Linked DNA regions of Homo sapiens: regions 1, 2, 3, 4, 5 and 7 are each linked to region 6. Evidence: promoter capture Hi-C in 16 types of primary human blood cells and fetal thymus (Javierre and others, 2016). All regions are on one chromosome and are shown on one strand. The core of a region is centred on a gene start or on the middle of the fragment in contact, and the rest is flanking DNA. Distances in the headings are between cores, read along the strand shown.

Region 1 (2,700 bases), core at 161-2,660, 2.9 Mb after region 6:
TCCAGCCTGGGCGACAGAGTGAGACTCCATCTCAAATAAAATAAAATAAAATAAATAAAATAAAATTATAGATGAATTGGTACATTAGTTTCTGGGGCCATAAAGGAATGCATAGAAATATCTGTATTATAGTCATTCATTCAACAAATATTTATTGAGTGTTTACTAAGCTTGACATTGAGTTAGTAGTAGATGCCAGAGACATAAGCATCATGTCTCATAAGCACAACTGTTTGTGATTCATAATTGGCCATTTGTGTGGTGTTTGTCCTTAACACATTGTCATCTCTTTTTTCATAGTCTTCCCAGTTGTTTATACAGTTGCGTGGGGTAAGCTTAATATTATTTTACTTAAACAAGCATTAAATGTGCAGTCACAGATTTCTGTACTTTGACAAAATGGCCAGTTTCAGATGGAATAATCTGTGTAAAGGCTGTTTATTACAGGGTTTACACTGGATTTGAATCTATACTCTGCTGCTTACTACCCTCAATTTTATTATATTTAAAAGGGGACAGTAATACTTCTTAAGTTGGATTTTTTGGGAGGGATTACGTATGAATATTTACCATAGTGTTTAGCAGATAATAAATATTGGTTACTTTTATTACAGATGTGCTGAACACCTTGGGAGAATGAACTACGTAGGTAATATTTCATAATTGAAACAGTGAATGGAAAAGCACCTATAAGGCATTCTTTTTTTTTTTTTTTTTAATTTTGAGACGGAGTCTCACTCTGTTGCCAGGCTGGAGTGCAGTGGCACTATCTCGGCTCACTGCAACCTCCAACTCTCTCGTTCAAGTGATTCTCCCAAGTAGCTGAGACTACAGGCACGTGCCATTATGCCCAGCTAATTTTTGTATTTTTGGTAGAGACGGGGTTTCACCATGTTGGCCAGGATGGTCTCGATTTCCTGACCTCATGATCTGCCCACCTGGGCTTCCCAACTGTAAGGCATTCTTAATGTTATTGTTACTTTTGGAAACATGGTAGACTTCAGTGTGCCAATTAATTAAGATTGTAACAAAGTTAGTTTTAAAGGAAAATTGCATATGAAGTTTCATTTTAGTCTCAAAAAAGGATACTCAATAAAGACTTCACTAATCTCAAAGGAGTATGGTATTGCCATCTAGAAGCTGTTCTTTTGGATCTCTGACAGTTGTTACATTTGACTTGTGGTTGTTCTAATGCAATCTTTTGTTTAAATTATTATTACCAACCTGGTGCCAGAGATTGGTTCTCCTCTCCCCTTTTACTTAACCTCTCTCTTTGTGGATCAGCCACATGGGAACTTTATAATATCTGATCTCATGCCTTGCTAATAGAATGTGTACTTCTAAAATGTTTTTCTAGTATTTATGATGGATTTTTTACTGTTCCTGGTTATGACTAATGGAATGCATTTGTGATGCAGTGGTGACATTAGGGTTTCTGCTTGTAAGAATGCAACAAAATGATAGATATTTTGAAACAAATGATCTTTTGTACAGGGTTTTCCACACCAGATAGAGAAGGAGAGGGGGGTGTTTCTCAAAGTGGGTGGGTAGTGCTGTGATGCTTTTTAAAGTAAGCATCCATGTTCATGCAGTGGCAGTGCCTGTGGCTTTTTATTCCTAATTTATCTGTAAAGTTTACTTTAAAATAATTGTGATATCTTTTTTCTATTAGTTTCCATTAATTCCTATTTTTTTGGTCTTAAATTGGTAAGCAGAAATTGATGTAAAAAGTGGTATATTGAACTTTTCTTCCCTCAGAAGTAATCCACTCCTTGTGTTAGCTTTATGGATGGGATTGAGGTTTGTATTGTTTCCTTGTTTAATAAAGTGTACTTCTGATTATGGAGCGAGTCTAATCAGAGTTAAGATAAGAATGAGATAAAGGAGAAAGGGGCCTGGTGCAGTAGCTCACACCTGTAACCCCAGCACTTTGGGAGGCTGAGATGGGTGAATCTCTTGAGTCCAGGAGTTTGAGACCAGCCTGGGCAACATGGCGAAACCCCATCTCTACAAAAAATAAAAAAATTAGCCAGGCATGGTGGTGTGCACCTGTAGTCCCAGCCTCTCAGAAGGCTGAGGTGGGAGAATCACCTGAGCCTGGGAAGTTGAGGGTGTAGTGAGCTGTGATTGTGCCATTGAACTTCAGCCTGGGCAATGGGAATGCGACCCTGTCTCAAAAAATATAATAAAAAATAATGTGATAAAGATATTTATAAAAGAATTGTGGTTTGGTGTTTTAAGTTATTTATACTTTGTTTCTACCCTTAGTGAGAAAATTGGTACTTTAATGTATATACTCAAAGATTGTGTATTTTTCACCAGAATATTACAGGGTAGAATATACTAGATGAAAAACTCAAGAAATATGTTACCAGCATTAAAATTATTTTAGCTGCTCAAGAGTCATAATCACACATAATATGACGATGTTATTTTGAACTTCATTTGCAGATCATAGCAATGGATCATTTAACTTGAAAGCTTTGTCAGGAAGCTCTGGATATAAGTTTGGTGTTCTTGCTAAGATTGTGAATTACATGAAGGTAAGTACTTTTCTCAGATAGCAAAAGTCCTATTTAACTTTTTGGCAAAAGAAGGAGATTAGGGTTTTCAGAAGTTAAATTTCTGTATACATCAAAATTTATCAAAATTGTGCATTTTCAGTATGTGCAGTTTATTGTATGCCAATTATACCTCAAG
Region 2 (2,700 bases), core at 30-2,529, 2.5 Mb after region 6:
GAACAAAGTTGGAGGACTCATGTTTCCCAATTTCTAAACTTACTACAAAGCTACTGTAATCAAAACAGTGTGGTACAGGCATAAGGACAGAAATATAAATACAATAGAATAGAATTGAGATTCCAGGAGTAAATCCATACATTTACCACCAATTGATTTTTGACAAGGGTGCCAAGTCCATTCAGTGGGGAAAGAATAGACTCTTAAACATGTGGTGCTGGGACAACTGGATCTCCATATGGAAAAGAGTGAAGTTGGACCCCTACCTCACACCATATACAAAAATAACTTAAAATGTATCACACTAATATACAAGAATTTACTTAAAACTCCAATAGAAAAAGTAAAACTATAAAACTATTAAAAGAAAACATAACAGAAAATCTTCATGGCATTGGATTTGGGAATTAGGTATGATGCCAAAAGCATAGGTAATAAAAGAAAAAACAGATAAACTGGACTCTATAAAAATTTAAAAGTGAATCAAAGAACAATATCAAAAAGTGAAGAAAACCCACAAAATGGGAGAAATTATTTGCAAATCATACACCCAATAAGGGTTTAATATTCAGAATATATAAAGATCTCCCACAATTCAACAGAAAAAAAAACTCAATTAAAAAATGGGCAAAGGACTTAATAGACAGTTCCCAAAGAAGACATATAATGGCCAATAAGCACATTAAAAGATGCTCAACATCATTAGTCATTAAAGAAATACAAAATAAAACCACAGTAAGATACCACTTCCCACCACCTACTAGGATAGCTATAATTTTTAAAAAAGGAAATTAAGTTTTGGTGAGCATATGGAGAACTGGAACACTTGTACACTGCTCCCATGGAAAAACAGTTTTAGCAGTTCCTTAAAAAGCTAAACTAAAAGCTTACCATGTGATCTAGTAAGTCCACACGTAGGTATATTCCCAAAAGAATTGAAAATAGGAACTCAAACAGATTCTTGTACACCAATGTTAATAACAGCATTATTCACAATAGCCAAAAGGTGGAAACAACCTAAGTGTCCATCAACATATGAATAAATAAATATGGCATATATATAATATAAACAAATGGAATATTATTCAGCCATAAAAAGAAATCGAGTTCTGATACATGCCACAACATGGGTGAACCTTGAAAACATTATCCTCACAAAAGACTCTGAATAGCCAAAGCAATGTTGAGCTAAAAGAACAAAGCTAGGGGCATCACACTACCTGACTTCAAAATATACTAAACTCTAGTAATTAAAACAGCACGGTACTGGCATAAAGAGACACACAGATAATAGAACAGAACAGAGACCCAAGAAATAAAACCACATATTTATAGCCAACTGATTTTTGACAAAAGAGCCAAGAACCCACAATGGGGAAAGGTCAGGCTCTTCAATAAACGGTGTTGGGAAAACTGATAACCATATGCAAAAGAATGAAAGTAGTCAATTATCTCTCACCACATACAGCATCAACTCAAAATGGACTAAAGACTTAAATGTAAGACCCCAAACCATGAAACCACTTGAAGAAAACACAGGAAAAAAGCTCCCTAACATTGGTCAGGGCTAGAGGTTCCCAACCCCAGGGCCACAGATTAGTACCAGTCCATGGCCTGTTAGGAACCAGGCCACAAAGCAGTAGGTGAGCAGCAGGCAAGCAAGCGAAGCTTCATTTTTCTTTACAGCTGCTCCCCATTCCTCACGTTACCACCTGAGCTCCACCTCCTGACACATCAACGGTGGCATTAGATTCTCATAGCAGCGCAAAACCTACTGTGAATTGCGCATGCAAGGGATCTAGGTTGTATGCTCCTTAGAAGAACCTAATGCCTTATGAACTGTCACTGTCTCCCATCACTCCCAGATAGGACCCTCAAGTTTCAGGAAAACAAGCTCAGGGCTCCCAGTGATTCTACATTATGGTGAATTGTATAATTATTTCACTATATATTACAATGTAATAATAATAGAAACAAAGTGCACAATAAATGTAATGCGCTTGAAATATCCTGAAACCATCCCCTCCCTCCTGTGGATGGAAAAATTGTCTTCGATGAAACCAGTCCTTGGTACCAAAAAGGTTGGGGACTGCTGATCTGGGCAATGATTTTTTGGATATGACTTCAAAAGCAAAGGTAACAAAAGCAAAAATAGACAAAGGGATTACATCAAAATAAAATGCTTCTCTGCACAGCAAATTCAACAGACTGAAGACAGAATCTACAGAATCGGATAAAATATTTGCAAACTATACATCTAATAAGAGGTTAATTTCCAAAATGTTTAAGGATGTCAAACAACTCAATAGCAAAAAAATAAAAAAATTAAAAAACCATATTTAAAAAATGAGCAAAAGACCTGAATAGACATTTCTCAAAAGGAGATATACAAATAACCAACAAGTATATGAAACATTGCTCATCAATAACCATCAGGGAAATGTAAATCAAAATCACAATGAGATATCACCTCACACCTGTTAGAATGGCTATTACCAAAAAGACAAAAGATAAGTGTTGGCGAGGATGTGGAGAAAAGGGAACTCCTTCCTCGCTGTTGGTGGGAATGTAAATTATTACTAACATTATGGAAATAACTCAAAATATTAAATGTAGAACTACAAGCGGGTCCAGCAAATCCACTACAGGGTATATATTCAAGGGAAATGAAATCAGTATGTCAAAGAGCTATCTGCACTT
Region 3 (2,747 bases), core at 119-2,618, 2.5 Mb after region 6:
TTTTTTTTTTTTTTTTTTTTTTTGAGACAGAGTCTCGCTCTGTCACCCAGGCTGGAGTGCAGTGGCGCGATCTCGGCTCACTGCAAGCTCCGCCTCCCGGGTTCATGCCATTCTCCTGCCTCAGCCTCCCGAGTAGCTGGGACTACAGGCGCCCGCCACAACGCCTAATTTTTTCTATTCTTTAGTAGAGACGGGTTTTCACCATGTTAGCCAGAATGGTCTCGATCTCCTGACCTCGTGATCCGCCCGCCTCAGCCTCCCAATAATAAAACCATATTTTATGTCTAAATCTATATAATATCTATAACTATATATAAACCTTAATGCTGTCATTCTAGTGGATTACATTGTATTGAAGTATTAAATTAATTCATACATAGACATTTGGCAGTTCTGCAAGTTCATTGACTTCTCTTAACAGCTACTACCTTTGAATGATTAGCACTCCAGAACACTGAATGAGTTCCTAATTGTGAAAATGATTAACTAACTGCTGACATAACAGAGATAGTCACAAACTCAAATGGATCATTACAGGCAATGTAACTTTTTTAAAAATTCTCTATTCATTTGCATTATGGCTACAAGATAAATTTTAGATTTAAAAAAATTAAGTGTTAGAATTATACTTTGAGTAGGCTTCAGGCAGAATAAATTTATAGTAGACTTCAGCTCAACATTAGGGCAAACTTTAAGGATTGCATGACTTCTCTGCTCCTGGAATTAATTATTTAGGCACGCACTGAATGTGGGATGCATAAAGGGAATTAATAAATCAGAAAAGGTGAATTGTTATGGCTCAGATTCTTCTCCACTCTGAGGGATTCAGAATTTATTGGAAATAATCATTGGAACTTTTGCCTTCAGGCCTTCTGTTAATTTACTGGTTTGGATAAAGAAGTGTGATTTCAAATTTTCTAATATTATTGTGAAAACATATAAAGAAAAGAAATCCTTCTTCCCATCCTTTGTTATTGCAAAACAACGTAAGAACTAGGTTTTAAATTTTCATGAACTTTATTAATTAAATGACTAGTTAAATAGAATTTATGAAATTTATTCTGTAAGATTAAGTCTACCTTTTATAATCTTCAAAGAAACTTTTCACTTTCAATCTGTTTTCAAAAATATGAAGGAATAAATTTAGTATTTATAGTGCTATTTCAAAAGTACCTGCTGTCGGTTTATTTAGAATGACACAAGAGGCAATAGGGTAAATTGGAAAACCAAATTATTGGATATTATCAAATTTTTTCTTTATAAAATTCACATTAAATTCTGTTTAAAAGTCGAAACATCTATAATATCTTTCTCCATTTTTTCTTGCACTGCTAATTAAGGTGGAAAGAAGCAACATCGTTTGCTAATTTCATCTTAAATTTTTTGTTTTAGACAACAAGTTTCCAAGTAAGTTCATTATTGCTACAAATGCAATCATATCTAAATTCAGGACCTAGTGAATTCATATGAAACTCGATTCTGCCTGGTGGTGTCCACTTTTTTCTTGTCACTTCTTCTAATCATCTGTGCTTTCTTGTGATACTGTAACATTTCCAGATTTCAAGTGGGCAAATAGTAGCTTTTATGGAGAGATCTGAGTGATTTAAATGTTATCACACAAACATCTATAAACTATATTGCACATTTCTAAATATTTGGCTAAGCAAATTTTATTCCTCCAGATAAATATTACATACCCTTTATATATAATAGATAGATATAGATATAGATATATAATCTCTTATAGAGAGTATGTGTAATATATATTAAACATACATATATTGCACATGCATATATATACAATTTTTTACATATATATGTAAAAATTTTTAAAAGAGATCCCAATCCTATTCACCTTTTTCTTGTCCCTGGAGAAGTAGTGGTAAATGGGTTTCATCTCGCTTGTATTTGCAATTGATTGGCTGCCCTAAAGTGCTGTGTTTGTATCTACAGGGAGAGGGAAAAAACAGTGTTCATGCCAAATATTTGCTATTTATCATTCCTGCTTTAGAGACATAAAAGTTTTCATTGTAGCTCTAAAAATTTCTAGCTTAGCCAGATAGCTGGCAGTTGCAGCACAAACTACCATGTGACTCACCTGGAATGTGTCTCTTCTAATATGTGAAAGAGATTATTTGAAATCTCTTTCCTTTTTTCTTTTTTCTTTTGATCATCTCTCCTTTAAAAGAGCAGAGCATCTCCACTATGCCTCTGAGAAACTAGAATGATGGCCATGATGATGTCATCAAAGATACTCTTAAGTATTAAACTCTACATTTGCTTCTAATGAGTTCTAACCCCCATTAAAATGACAGCAGTTGCATCCTTTAAAATTTAGTCCAGTGATTCTCAAACACAAGTGTGCAGGTGTATTAAATAAAAATACAGGTTTGGTCCCCATCCTCAGAGATTCTGATTTGATTGGTTCAAGAGAGGGGTTCAGAAATTGGCATTTTTCATCGTCTTACTCATTCTGATACAAGTGGTCTGGAAGCCACTCTTTGTCATTCACTTAGACTGTGGACTTGCGTTCTTTCTTTTTTTTTTTTTTTTTTTTTTTTTTTTGGTTCTTGGTAGACTTGCATTCTTTCTTCCATATCGTTTTTCCAGCACAAATTGCTTAAGTTTTAAATACTGTCAGTCATGACACCATGGAATGATGATTTTTTTGGTTACAATATTAATAAGTAGTATCCAGGGCTCACTTTATTTTATTTATTTATTTATCTATCTATGTATTTATTTAT
Region 4 (2,700 bases), core at 89-2,588, 2.9 Mb after region 6:
TGAGATCTGTGGATTTGGAGTGCAGGTTTGAGTGACTTGAATTTGTATTAAAGACACTTATTTTTTCTTTGTAGCATTATGGATCCAAGCCTGTTGAGAGAAAGGGAGCTGTTCAAAAAACGAGCTCTTTCTACTCCTGTAGTAGAAAAACGTTCAGCATCTTCTGAGTCATCATCATCATCGTCAAAGAAGAAGAAAACAAAGGTAGAACATGGAGGATCGTCAGGCTCTAAACAAAATTCTGGTTAGTAAAATTGTTTAGGACTGTTTGGTTTTTATTCAGATTATTCAGGAGGAAACCGTTTAGTTATGGCTAGTTCATTTTTCAGTTCAGCACTCATGTTGATAGGCACTTTGTTGAATATAAAGGATGGGACAAGAGAATTTAAGCTCTTAGGATGTTAATAGTCTTGTGCTGTAGTTAAAATTTAGGTTATTACCTCTTTAAAAAAACTTTATTTAGGTTTAATTTACATACCATACAGTTCATTCATTTTAAGTTTACAGTTCAAAGATGTTTGGTAAATTTACAGAATTTTGCAGCTGTTATTACAGTCCAATTTTAGAACATTTCCATCACCCCCAGCAGATCTGATGTGCCCATTTGCAGTGACTTTTCCCATCCCTGCCCCGGAAAACCAATAATCTGCTTTCTGGCTCTGTATATTTGCCTTTTCTGGATATTTCCTATAAATGAAATTGTACAGTAAGTGGTCTTTTGTGTGTTGTTTTTTTCACTTGGCATATTTTTGAGTTCCATCCATGTAGTATGCATCAGTACTTCATTCCATTTTTATTGGTAAAGCGTATTCCATAGTATGGATATATGTACCACAGTTTGTTTATCCATTCACCAATAAACGGTTATTTGGATTATTTTCACTTTTTGGCTGTTTTGAATAGTGTTGGTATGAATATTCATGTACAAGTCTTTGTGTAGACATATCTTTTTATCTCTTTTGGATAGAGACCTAGAAGTAGATTTCTGGGTCATATGTCAAATTTATATTTAACTTGTTAAGAAACTGCTAAAATAGCTGTACCATTTTATATTTCCTCCAGCAATGTATCAGGGTTCTAGTTTTTTCTCATCCTTGCTAACGCTTGAAATTCTGTTTTTTTTTTTTTAATCATAGCTATTTCTATAGTTGTGAAGTTCTATCATTGTGGCTTTAATACGCATTTCCTTAATGAGTAATGATGTTGAACATTGTTTCATGTGCTTATTGACCATGTGTATTCCTTGGTGAAATGTCTATTCAATTTTTTTTTGCCCATAAAAAAAACTGAGGTATATTTCCTCTCTCTATTGATTTAATAATTCTTCATATATTCTGGCTACCATTCTTTGATCTGGTATACATTTGCAAATATTTTCTCCAAGCAAGTGCTTGTCATTTTATCTTCTTAATAGTGTCTTTGTATGTACAAAAGTTTTTAATTTTGATGAAGTCCACCTTACCAGTTTTTTTCTTTTATCATTTGTATTCTTGGTGTCATATCTAAGAAATCTTTGCCTGACACAGGTCATGAAAATTTTTTTCTGTGTTTTCCTCTAAGAGTTTTGTAGTTTTAGCTCCTGCATTTAGGTTTGTAGTATATTTGAGTTGATTTTTGTGTATGGATTAGCATAAGAGTCAAAATTTATCTTTTTGCGTGTTCTTATGAAGTTGTCCCAGCATCATTTTTTGAAATGATGATCTTTCCCCTGTTGAATTATATTGCGCCCTTGTTGAATATTAGTAGACCATAAATCAAAGAGTTTATTTCTGGAGTCTTAGTTTGGTTCCATTGACTTCTGTGTTTATCTTTATGCCAGTATCATTTCTCTTGAGTGCTGTAGCATTGTAATTAAGGTTTGAGACTGAGAAATGTAAGTCCATCAACTTAGTTCTTTTTTATTTCAAGAATTGTTTTAGTTTTTCTGCATAAATTTTAGGGTCAATCTATCAACATTTGCAAAAAAGCCTGCTGGGATTTCCATAGGGATTGAATTGAATCTATAAATCAATTTGGGGAAGAACTGCCATCTTAACAATATTAGATCTTCCAGTCAATGAATAGATGGCTTTTTACAAATTTTTTGTAGAGACAGGATCTTGCTCTGTTGCCCAGGCTGGTCTCAAACTCCTGGCCTCAAGCAATCTTCCTACCTCAGCCTCCCAGAGTGTTGGGATTATAGGTGTGAGTCATTACACCCAGCGGTTATTTTATTCTGATTCAATCTCACTTATGAATGAAATTGTTTTCTTTGATTTTTTTTTTTAAATTGTTCATTGCTAGTATATAGAAACAAGAGTTTTTTTTAATACATTGATCTTGTATTCTGTAACCTGACTGAACTTGTTTTTTATTTCTCGTAGTTTTTTGTGTGGTTTCCCTAGGATTTTCTATGTCAAGATTATGTCATCTGTGAATAAGAACAGTTTTCTTTCTTTCTTTCCGGTGTGAACTTTTTAATTTTTATTTATCTTGCCTGTCTGGACTGGCTGTACATTGAATAGTAAAAGTAGCTACCTTTGCCTTGTTCCTGATCTTAGGGGCAAAGCATTCGGTTTTTCACTCTTACGCATGATATTACTGCAGGTTTTTGTACATGCCCTTTCCAGTTGAAGAAGTTCCTTTCTATTTCTAGTTTGTTGAGAGGTGGTTTTTTTTTTTTTGAGACGGAGTCTTGCTCTGTTGCCCAGGCTGGAGTGC
Region 5 (2,700 bases), core at 42-2,541, 2.8 Mb after region 6:
ATCTTTGGACACGGGAGCATAATATGTGACTACTTTTCTAGGTTACTGTAAAAGTAGAATTGCTGGGCCAATCAGGATATGTTTGCTAACACTAGTTATAGTCAACCTTTAAAATTTTTGCCAATCTGACAGATGAAAAATATTTCATTATTTAAATTATCTTTTATCTTTACTTTTAAAAAATGTAGATTTCGTCTGGGCGTGGTGGCTCATGCCTGTAATTCCAGCACTTTGGGAGGCCAAGGTGTGTGGATCACTTGAGGTCATGAGTTCGAGACCAGCCTGGCCAACAAGGCGAATCCCCATCTCTACTAAAAATACAAAAATTAGCCAGGCAGGATGGCAGGCGCCTGTAATCTCAGCTACTCGGGAGGCTGAGGCATGAGAATTGCTTGAGCCTGGGAGGCAGAGGTTGCAGTGAGCTGAGATCTTGCCACTATACTCCAGCCTGCGCGATATAGTGAGACTCAGTCTCAAAAAAAAAACAACCAAACAAAAAAATAATGTAGTTTTCTGGCTGGGCACAGTGGCTCATGACTGTAATCCCAGCACTTTGGGAGGCTGAGGCAGGTGGATCACCTGAGGTCAGTAGTTCGAGACCAGCATGGCCAACATGGCAAAACCCCATCTCTACTGAAAATACAAAAATTAGCTGGGCATGGTGGTGCACACCTACAGTCCCAACTATTCAAGAGGCTGAGGCAGGAGAATCGCTTGAATCTGGGAGGTGGAGTTTGCAGTAAGCTGTGATCGCACCATTGCACTCCAGCCTGGGCAACAAAGCGAGACTCCGTCTCAAAAAAAAAAAAAAGTAGTTTTCTGAGTCTTGCTTTTTCTACTTTTATTCCATAAGTGTATTTCTATATATTAACTAAGAGTGAAATGGAAATGATTGTAACCAAATATGTATTTGTACATAACATGATAATCTGTGCATTTGTGCATTTCGCTTTTCTACATCTTTGGTTACTTCTTTAGGCCAAATGCCTAGTAGTTATAAATCAAAGTCATTTTATGAGATCTAATATTTATTTAGGTTTTCTCAAGTTTCTGTACTAATGGTTAATCAATATCCTAAGTTCCATGCCATGTACTTTAAATTTTTGTGCTTTTGGTGAGTATTCACCAGTATCTCAATGTTCAGCCTTTCTTTGTGTGTGTGTTTCTTTTTTGAGGCAGAGTCTTTCAGTGTCACCCAGGCTGGAGTGCAGTGGCATGATCATGATCATGGCTTACTGCAGCCTTGTCTTTCCAGGCTCAAAGGGTCCCCCCACCTCAGCCTCCTGAGTAGCTGGGACCACAGGCATGCACCACCACACCCAGCTACTTTTTTTTGTAGAGACGTGGTCTCGCTTGTTGCCCAGGCTGGTCTCGAATTCATGGGCTTAAGCAATCCAACTGCCTCAGCTCCCAAAGTGCTGGAATTACAGGTGTGAACTACCAAGCCCTGGCCCATCTTGGGTGTTTATCCATGTATTCTGCAGTACTTTCCCGAGAAGTCCTCTTAGACAGCAGCTCAAATGGGCTGATTGTTCTTTCTCCGTCCAAGAAAAATGCTGATGAATGAACTTCTCTCCCTCATTACAGAAGGAAAATAATGTTCTTATCTTTTTGTAACAAAGAAAGTAACTAGAATTTAGTACACTGTGACTTAGAACCCAAGGAAGACTCCTCGCTTGATGCTTAGCGTGCATTTCTTGCAGATTTCGTTTGATGGTTTGAATTCAATATTCTTAAAGTGTGTCTCTTTTTTTTTTTTCCAGGTGAATGTTGGATGTGTACCCAAAAAGGTAGAATTTTTATTTCTCTTTCCCTTTACAATCCTTTTTCTATTTGGTAAATCATAATCAAAATCAGAATGTTTCCAAATAGATCAGTTAAAATTCTTTCTGCAAAAAAAACCCCTAGACCCTACTAAAAGTAGCTTAAGCAATAGGATTGTTTTTGTTTGATTTGTGTTTTTTAAATTTTTTTATTTATTTTTAATTACTTTTTATTTTTATTATTATTGTTTTTTTGAGACGGAGTTTCGTTCTTGTCACCCAGGCTAGAGTACAGTGGCGCGATCTTGGCTCACCGCAACCTCTGCCTCCTGGGTTCAAGTGATTCTCTTGCCTCAGCCTCCCAAGTAGCTGGGATGACAGGCGTGCGCCACTGCACTTGACTGATTTTTGTATTTTTAGTAGAGATGGGGGTTTCACCGTGTTGGCCAGGCTGGTCTCGAACTCCTGACCTCAGGTGATCTGCCCACCTCAGCCTCCCAAAATGCTGGGATTATAGGCATGAGCCACAGACCCCAGCCAAGGCCTGGTCATCTACACCACAGGATAGTTTTTTCTCAGCAAAAAGACCCAGCCAGCAAACCAAACTGTTGAATGGAATCTTCTCAAGTTCTGTGGGTTCATGGATTTTCTGTATCACATTAGTGATTTTTTCGTTGTTAATATCTGTGGTGCAGGTCACATTGAATGAATTCATTTTTTTTACCCTTGACAAAGAGGAAAAAACAGCAGCTCTTATTTGTAAAGCTGCCTCTTGCTTATACTTGCAAAGAATTTTACCACTCATTTGAATGTACTTTCAACATATGTTGTAATCTCAAGCTTACCACCTTTATTAATGACATTCCATTTTAACTTGTCATCTTTTTGGTATTATATAAGCAAATCTCCTAATCTCATCAGTGATGCATACCTGAGT
Region 6 (2,700 bases), core at 60-2,559:
TGTCCCTGCGCACCCGGCGCCGACACTGGCGGGGCGGGCCCAAGCCGGATCCGCCAACCCGACGACCCACCTCCCTCAGGGCTGCCCCAGACGCCAGCTGGGGGCTTCTACCTTGACGCTAGAATTTGAATTTTCAAACGCTTGTGGCTACAGGCTTTAAAACGCTAGCTCCAGAAACCAGCTAAAGTATTGCATTGAACAGAAAACCAAATACCGCATGCTCTCATTCATAAGTGGGAGCTAAACATTAGGAACACGTGGACATAAAAGTGGCAACAACAGACACTGTGGTCTACTAGAGGGGGCAATGAAAACGGGCTAAGCTGCACTCCAAATCCCAGCATCCCACAACATATCCAGGTAACAAACCTGCGCAGGTATCTCCCAAACCTAAAAAATTAAAGCCATTAAAAAGCTCTGCATTGGCCAGGCGCGGTGGCTCACGCCTGTAATCCCAGCCCTTTGGGAGGCCGAGGCGGGCGCATCACGAGGTCAAGAGATCGAGACCATCCTTGCCAATATTTATACAAAAATTAGCTGGGCGTGGTGGCGCGCGCCTATAGTCCCAGCTACTCGGGAGGCTGAGGTAGGACAATCTCTCGAAAACCGGAGGTGGGGGTTGCAGTGAGCCGAGATCGCAACACTGCAACTCCAGCCTGGCGACAACGCGAGACTCCGACTCACAAAAGAACAAACACAAAAACACATTACACAGTTGGACAACGGAAAAGCACCCGTGCGTGTAGCATACAGCCAGAAAAAAGGGCACCCGAAAACGGTAAACACAAAGCCATGAAACTAGGCCACCTGTTATCATAAGTAACAAGCCCACAAATACAAGTGTTAAATCGATCCTTGAAGTTCAGGTCAGACGGGTAATGTGCCCACGTCGTAACAAGGTTCAAGGGTGGCACATCTCACACAAGCGTATGAACACCCAATCATCACGCTCATGAACTACAAAAGGATCATCTTATAGTTGACATTAAGGAGTGCCAAGTATGTGCCACTAATTTACACATAGGGTGACTACCGTAATGCGATACATCCATTCTTCACGTATAAAATCCTGGATATTTTCAAAGTCCCACTGAGATTCTGTGATTATTCTTTTGTTTCTACCTTAGCAAAGGAAAACAGAAACACAATTAGCGAGCGGATTATTATATATGCAAATTTATTCTCTATAGTTCCACCTCTCCGTCATTTTCCCGAGCCTGGATCTTTATTGCTTTACGACCATACGTCGTGAAATAAGAAGGTGTTGCGGCAGTACTGGCGGAAGCTAGCCTTGCGTTTTGCGGCAGCAATATGAGCTAGGTCCGGATCCTGTTAGACACCGGCGGGCGCGAGCCGTTGCAGGTACCTGGGGGTGGTTAAGTTGGTGACATGGCTCAGAAGTTTATTTCTTTAAATTTTTAAGTTTTTTTTCTTTTTAGTCTTCAGAAAGGCAACAGTAGTCTTTTAACGTCACTGTTAAAAGTGTAAGACTCTTTTACTCCCTGAGAGTCCCCTTTCCCTTTCTTGCGTCCTTTCCTCTTTATTCTTTTTTTTTTTTTTTTTTTTACTGAGACGGAGTCTCACTCTGTCGCCCAGGCTGGAGTGCAGTGGCGCGATCTCGGCTCACTGCAAACTCCGCCTCCCGGGTTCACCCTTTCTCTTTATTCTTATCCCGGTCAGACTCGCCCCCTCCTCCAAGACATCTCTCTGTTTTATTTTATTTGATTTTAGTTCTCTTTGGGTGATCGCTCCTTCCCTCTTCAACGGATCCCTCCCCGCCTCCATCCTCGTTCTGTGGGAGAGACCAGCCTTCTGGTGCTGCAGTCAGGAATGGAGCTTGACAGCGCTCTGGAAGCCCCATCGCAGGAAGACTCTAATTTGTCCGAGGAGTTGTCTCACTCCGCCTTTGGACAGGCCTTCTCCAAGATTTTACACTGTCTTGCCCGCCCGGAGGCACGACGAGGCAATGTAAAAGATGCAGTTCTTAAAGACCTCGGTGATCTAATAGAAGCCACAGAATTTGATAGGTTATTTGAGGGGACTGGTGCACGGCTCCGCGGAATGCCGGAGACACTGGGGCAGGTAGCAAAAGCCCTGGAGAAGTATGCAGCCCCCTCCAAGGAGGAGGAAGGTGGAGGTGATGGGCACTCCGAAGCGGCCGAGAAAGCAGCCCAAGTTGGGTTACTGTTTCTTAAACTGTTAGGGAAAGTTGAGACTGCTAAGAATTCCCTGGTCGGCCCTGCATGGCAGACGGGCCTGCATCACTTGGCAGGACCCGTTTATATTTTTGCCATCACACACAGCTTGGAGCAACCATGGACCACTCCGAGATCTCGGGAAGTTGCTAGGGAGGTGCTCACCTCACTGCTTCAAGTTACTGAATGCGGTTCTGTGGCAGGATTCCTACATGGAGAAAATGAAGATGAGAAAGGGAGACTTTCGGTGATACTAGGGCTTCTCAAACCCGACTTGTATAAGTGAGTACTCCTGCCCTTTGCCACCGACTTGAGCCTCACAGTTTTTTATTTTTATTTTTTATTATTTATTTATTTTCGAGACAGAGTTTCACTCTTGTTGCCCAGGGTGGAGTGCAATGTTGCGATCTCAGCTCACTGCAACCTCCGCCTCCTGGGTTCAAGCGATTCTCCTGTGTCAGCCTTCGGAGTAGCTGGGATTACAGTTGCCCGTCACCACGCCTGG
Region 7 (2,742 bases), core at 106-2,605, 2.8 Mb after region 6:
TAAAAACAAAACAAAAAACTTCTCAGCCTAAATTCTCACAAGACCTTCATCTTATCAACCTGTTTATTTCCTTTTCAGTGTTCGCCAGGATGCGAAAGCACTGTCTATGATTGCCCCTGTGCTCTTTGCCTCTACCCTCTTACACGTAAAACCATCACACCTGGAGGGAAAAGGTTCCTCGAAGTGAAGTCAGCTCCGGAAGTGGGGGGGCAGGGGCGATGCAGTCTGGGAGTTGTAGTCAAAGCTGCTCCGAAGCCACGCAGCCGAAGAGGCGGTCGTTCTATGCAACATTCCTGTGAAAATTACCCAGCTGTGACTGTCGAAGGGAAAAAGTCACACTTACCTATATCCGGGATCCCACGCCGGAGCTCCAGACACACAAGGGGGACAGCAGAGAGGAAGAAAATGCCAACAACCCCACGTGAAGCCATGGTGGCGGAAGCGCCTGGTGCAGGCGGAAAGCCCGCCCCTTCCGGCCGCGTTTTCCGGGAAGGAAGTGGAACTCTTCTTGCCGCGGGCCGGCTGGGAGAGGGTCAATAACGTGGTAAATACTGACGGCCGTGTCGTTATTGAGGGGGAGCTAAGCCCCGTGTTTTAAAGTTATAGTCTGTAGCCGTGTTTCAGAAGAAAGGCAAGTCGTCCCCCAAGTCACATGATGTCCAGAGGAGCCTGGGCTCTAGAGCGGTGGCTCCCTGGAGGGTAGCAGGGCAGGGGCTGCCCCTTCGGTCTTTGCAGCGTCTGTGAGAAAGCGCTTTCCAGAGGGAAATGAAGCCGAAGAAAAAGCTGATGCTGTGAGGAGGCAGCCTGGGCCCCCCGGCCTTGTGGCCGTATAGGATGAATGTGGGCTATAACACCTTCCTTATCTCCCTAACGGTTCCTGGTTCCTGGCCCCGTCCGCAGTCTCTGGTTCCTGCGGAAAGACAACTCGAAAGTGGGGCCTGGCTCCAAATACCTGCCCCCTAACACGCACGTCCTAATGCCAGGTCCTGGAGACCCGCTACCCCTTGTTCCGCCCCTTTTCAGTTTTGCCTGCACGCGTTATTGTTAACCTTGACTTCATAGTTCCATGACCTCATTGCCGTCCTATAACTCACCACTGTGCACTTCTCCCAAGCTACTGAGGTCCTCCCAATCTACAACATTTCGTACTTGGAAATTATCTTTCCTGGCCAGGCGCGGTGGCTCACGCCTGTAATCTCAGCACTTTGGGAGGCCGAGGCGGGCGGATCACAAGGTCAGGAGTTCCAGACCAGCCTGGCAAATATGGTGAAACCCCGTCTCTACTAAAAATACAAAAATTAGCCGGGTGTGGTGGCGGTCGCCTGTAATTCCAGCTATTCGGGAGGCTGAGGCAGGAGAATTGCTTGAACCCGCATGCGGAGGTTGCTTTGAGCCGAGTTTGCACCACTGCACTCCAGCCTGGGCGACAGAATGAGACCCCGTCTCAAAAAAAAAAAAAAAAGAAAGAAAGAAATTATATTTCCTGGCTAAGCGCGGTGGCTCACGCCTGTAATCCCAACACTTTGCAAGAAAAAAGAAAATTCTTTTTCCTGACCCATCCATCTAGCATCCCACCTGACTATTCAGTTTAGTTCATCTGAAATTTATTGAGCTCCACAGTTTGGTACTCTACAACTCTTGGATATTCAAATATTTACAAGTTACTGAATTTGTCCTCAAGAAACTCAGCTTATCCGACTTTGTGGTTCTATGGAGAAGAAAAAAAAAAACTGGGAAAGATAGCCCTGTAAGCAAATAAACATAATGCAGTTCCTGAGTGCTATGATAGAGATATACACAGGGTGTTGCAGAACCATACCCAGAAGGCTTGCAAAAGGCTTTCCAAAAGGAAGTCACGCCTACGTTGTGTTCAAAGGTTAGGAATCTGGGCAAGGATGTCCGGGAAGGGTGGGATTTCAAGTTTAGGAACCTGAGTGCAAAGGAACTACCAGTGATTATTGCTGCAGTTTAGAGCTTGAGGCCGGGCGCGGTAGCTCACTCCTGTATTCTCAGCACTTTGGGAGGCGGAAGGAGGCAGATTGCTTCAGCTCAGGAGTTCGAGACCCCTCTGGGCAACATAGCTAAACCTGTCTAAAAAAAAAAAATAGCTGCGCGTGATGGCGTAGCCTGTGCTCCCAGCTACTCAAGAGGCTGAGGTGGGAGAATCACTTGAGCCCAGGAGGTCAAGTCTGCAGTGAGCTGAGATCATGCCAGTGCACTCCAGCCTGGGCGATATAGTGAGACCCTGTCTCTAAAAATAAAATAAAGCTGAATGAAGGCTTTTAGAGGTAGATTGTTGCTAGGGCCGCAGAGGCTTTCCTTTGTATATAGGCTAAGAACTTTATCCTCCAAGCAAAGGTGCAAAATATTAGGGCACAATCTGAAGATCAGTAAGGGTGAGGTAATATAAATTACAGCATGACATACCATAAAATAATTAATTATATTGACTAGTTCAGATGTTCCCATAGTTGTCTGTATCTTGTGTTCATCATGCATAAGGAGGAAGACAGGAAAGAAAGTTCTACAGTCTGTATCTTGTGTTCATCATGCATAAGGAGGAAGACAGGAAAGGAAGTTCTACAGTTCTTAACCACCTACCTCCTGTATTTTTTTCTTCCTCCCTGGTCTTCCATATTACCTAATTTAATCTGTTGATGGCGCCATTGAATCTCTCTCTGGACTACAAAAGGCAGTTCCTAACCAATCCAAATTTACCTTGTCTTAACATATGGGAAGCCA

Evidence for each region. Contacts are between HindIII fragments. The CHiCAGO score rates a contact against its expected background, and 5 or more counts as called.
Region 1: a fragment that was not itself captured here is called in contact with the fragment with the promoter of TTI2 in region 6 in 1 of 17 cell types (non-activated CD4 T cells); the score reaches 5.3 in non-activated CD4 T cells.
Region 2: a contact is called between a fragment that was not itself captured here and the fragment with the promoter of TTI2 in region 6, in 9 of 17 cell types (total CD4 T cells, non-activated CD4 T cells, total B cells and 6 more). The highest score is 13.2, in total CD4 T cells.
Region 3: a contact is called between a fragment that was not itself captured here and the fragment with the promoter of TTI2 in region 6, in 2 of 17 cell types (neutrophils and non-activated CD4 T cells). The highest score is 7.4, in neutrophils.
Region 4: a contact is called between a fragment that was not itself captured here and the fragment with the promoter of TTI2 in region 6, in 3 of 17 cell types (neutrophils, activated CD4 T cells and non-activated CD4 T cells). The highest score is 6.1, in neutrophils.
Region 5: a contact is called between a fragment that was not itself captured here and the fragment with the promoter of TTI2 in region 6, in 2 of 17 cell types (neutrophils and non-activated CD4 T cells). The highest score is 8.3, in neutrophils.
Region 7: a fragment that was not itself captured here is called in contact with the fragment with the promoter of TTI2 in region 6 in 1 of 17 cell types (naive CD8 T cells); the score reaches 6.2 in naive CD8 T cells.

The regions. Positions count from the first base shown.
Region 1 is chr8:30,634,875-30,637,574 of GRCh38, reverse strand. GTF2E2 (general transcription factor IIE subunit 2) reads left to right here. Exons shown (of 8, transcript NM_002095.6): 3 at 2,452-2,543. Among named protein-coding and RNA genes, the nearest start is that of SMIM18, 2.4 kb to the left of the region's middle. The HindIII fragment of the contact is 2,146 bases long and covers 338-2,483 here.
Region 2 is chr8:31,036,329-31,039,028 of GRCh38, reverse strand. All of the region lies in intron 1 of WRN (WRN RecQ like helicase), which reads right to left. Among named protein-coding and RNA genes, the nearest start is that of WRN, 3.9 kb to the right of the region's middle. The HindIII fragment of the contact is 782 bases long and covers 889-1,670 here.
Region 3 is chr8:31,016,400-31,019,146 of GRCh38, reverse strand. It overlaps a transcript of PURG not described here. Among named protein-coding and RNA genes, the nearest start is that of PURG, 16 kb to the left of the region's middle. The HindIII fragment of the contact is 5,501 bases long and covers 1-2,747 here.
Region 4 is chr8:30,650,977-30,653,676 of GRCh38, reverse strand. GTF2E2 (general transcription factor IIE subunit 2) reads left to right here. Exons shown (of 8, transcript NM_002095.6): 2 at 75-244. The coding sequence starts at 79. Among named protein-coding and RNA genes, the nearest start is that of GTF2E2, 5.9 kb to the left of the region's middle. The HindIII fragment of the contact is 6,292 bases long and covers 1-2,700 here.
Region 5 is chr8:30,711,152-30,713,851 of GRCh38, reverse strand. It overlaps GSR (glutathione-disulfide reductase), which reads left to right. Exons shown (of 13, transcript NM_000637.5): 2 at 1,764-1,790. Among named protein-coding and RNA genes, the nearest start is that of GSR, 15 kb to the left of the region's middle. The HindIII fragment of the contact is 2,628 bases long and covers 1-2,605 here.
Region 6 is chr8:33,511,744-33,514,443 of GRCh38, reverse strand. It overlaps TTI2 (TELO2 interacting protein 2), which reads left to right and starts at 1,309. Exons shown (of 8, transcript NM_001102401.4): 1 at 1,309-1,362; 2 at 1,732-2,477. The coding sequence starts at 1,831. It overlaps SNORD13 (small nucleolar RNA, C/D box 13), which reads right to left and starts at 969; the gene lies at 866-969. RefSeq lists a silencer at 658-707 and an enhancer at 1,138-1,277. The HindIII fragment of the contact is 19,476 bases long and covers 1-2,700 here.
Region 7 is chr8:30,741,879-30,744,620 of GRCh38, reverse strand. UBXN8 (UBX domain protein 8) reads right to left here and starts at 457. Exons shown (of 8, transcript NM_005671.4): 1 at 344-457. The coding sequence starts at 431. LOC105379356 (a long non-coding RNA gene) reads right to left here. Exons shown (of 2, transcript XR_005646967.2): 2 at 549-910. It overlaps LOC105379355 (a long non-coding RNA gene), which reads left to right and starts at 944. Exons shown (of 2, transcript XR_949634.2): 1 at 944-1,876. RefSeq lists enhancers at 489-568, 1-774, 809-948. The HindIII fragment of the contact is 4,701 bases long and covers 1-2,742 here.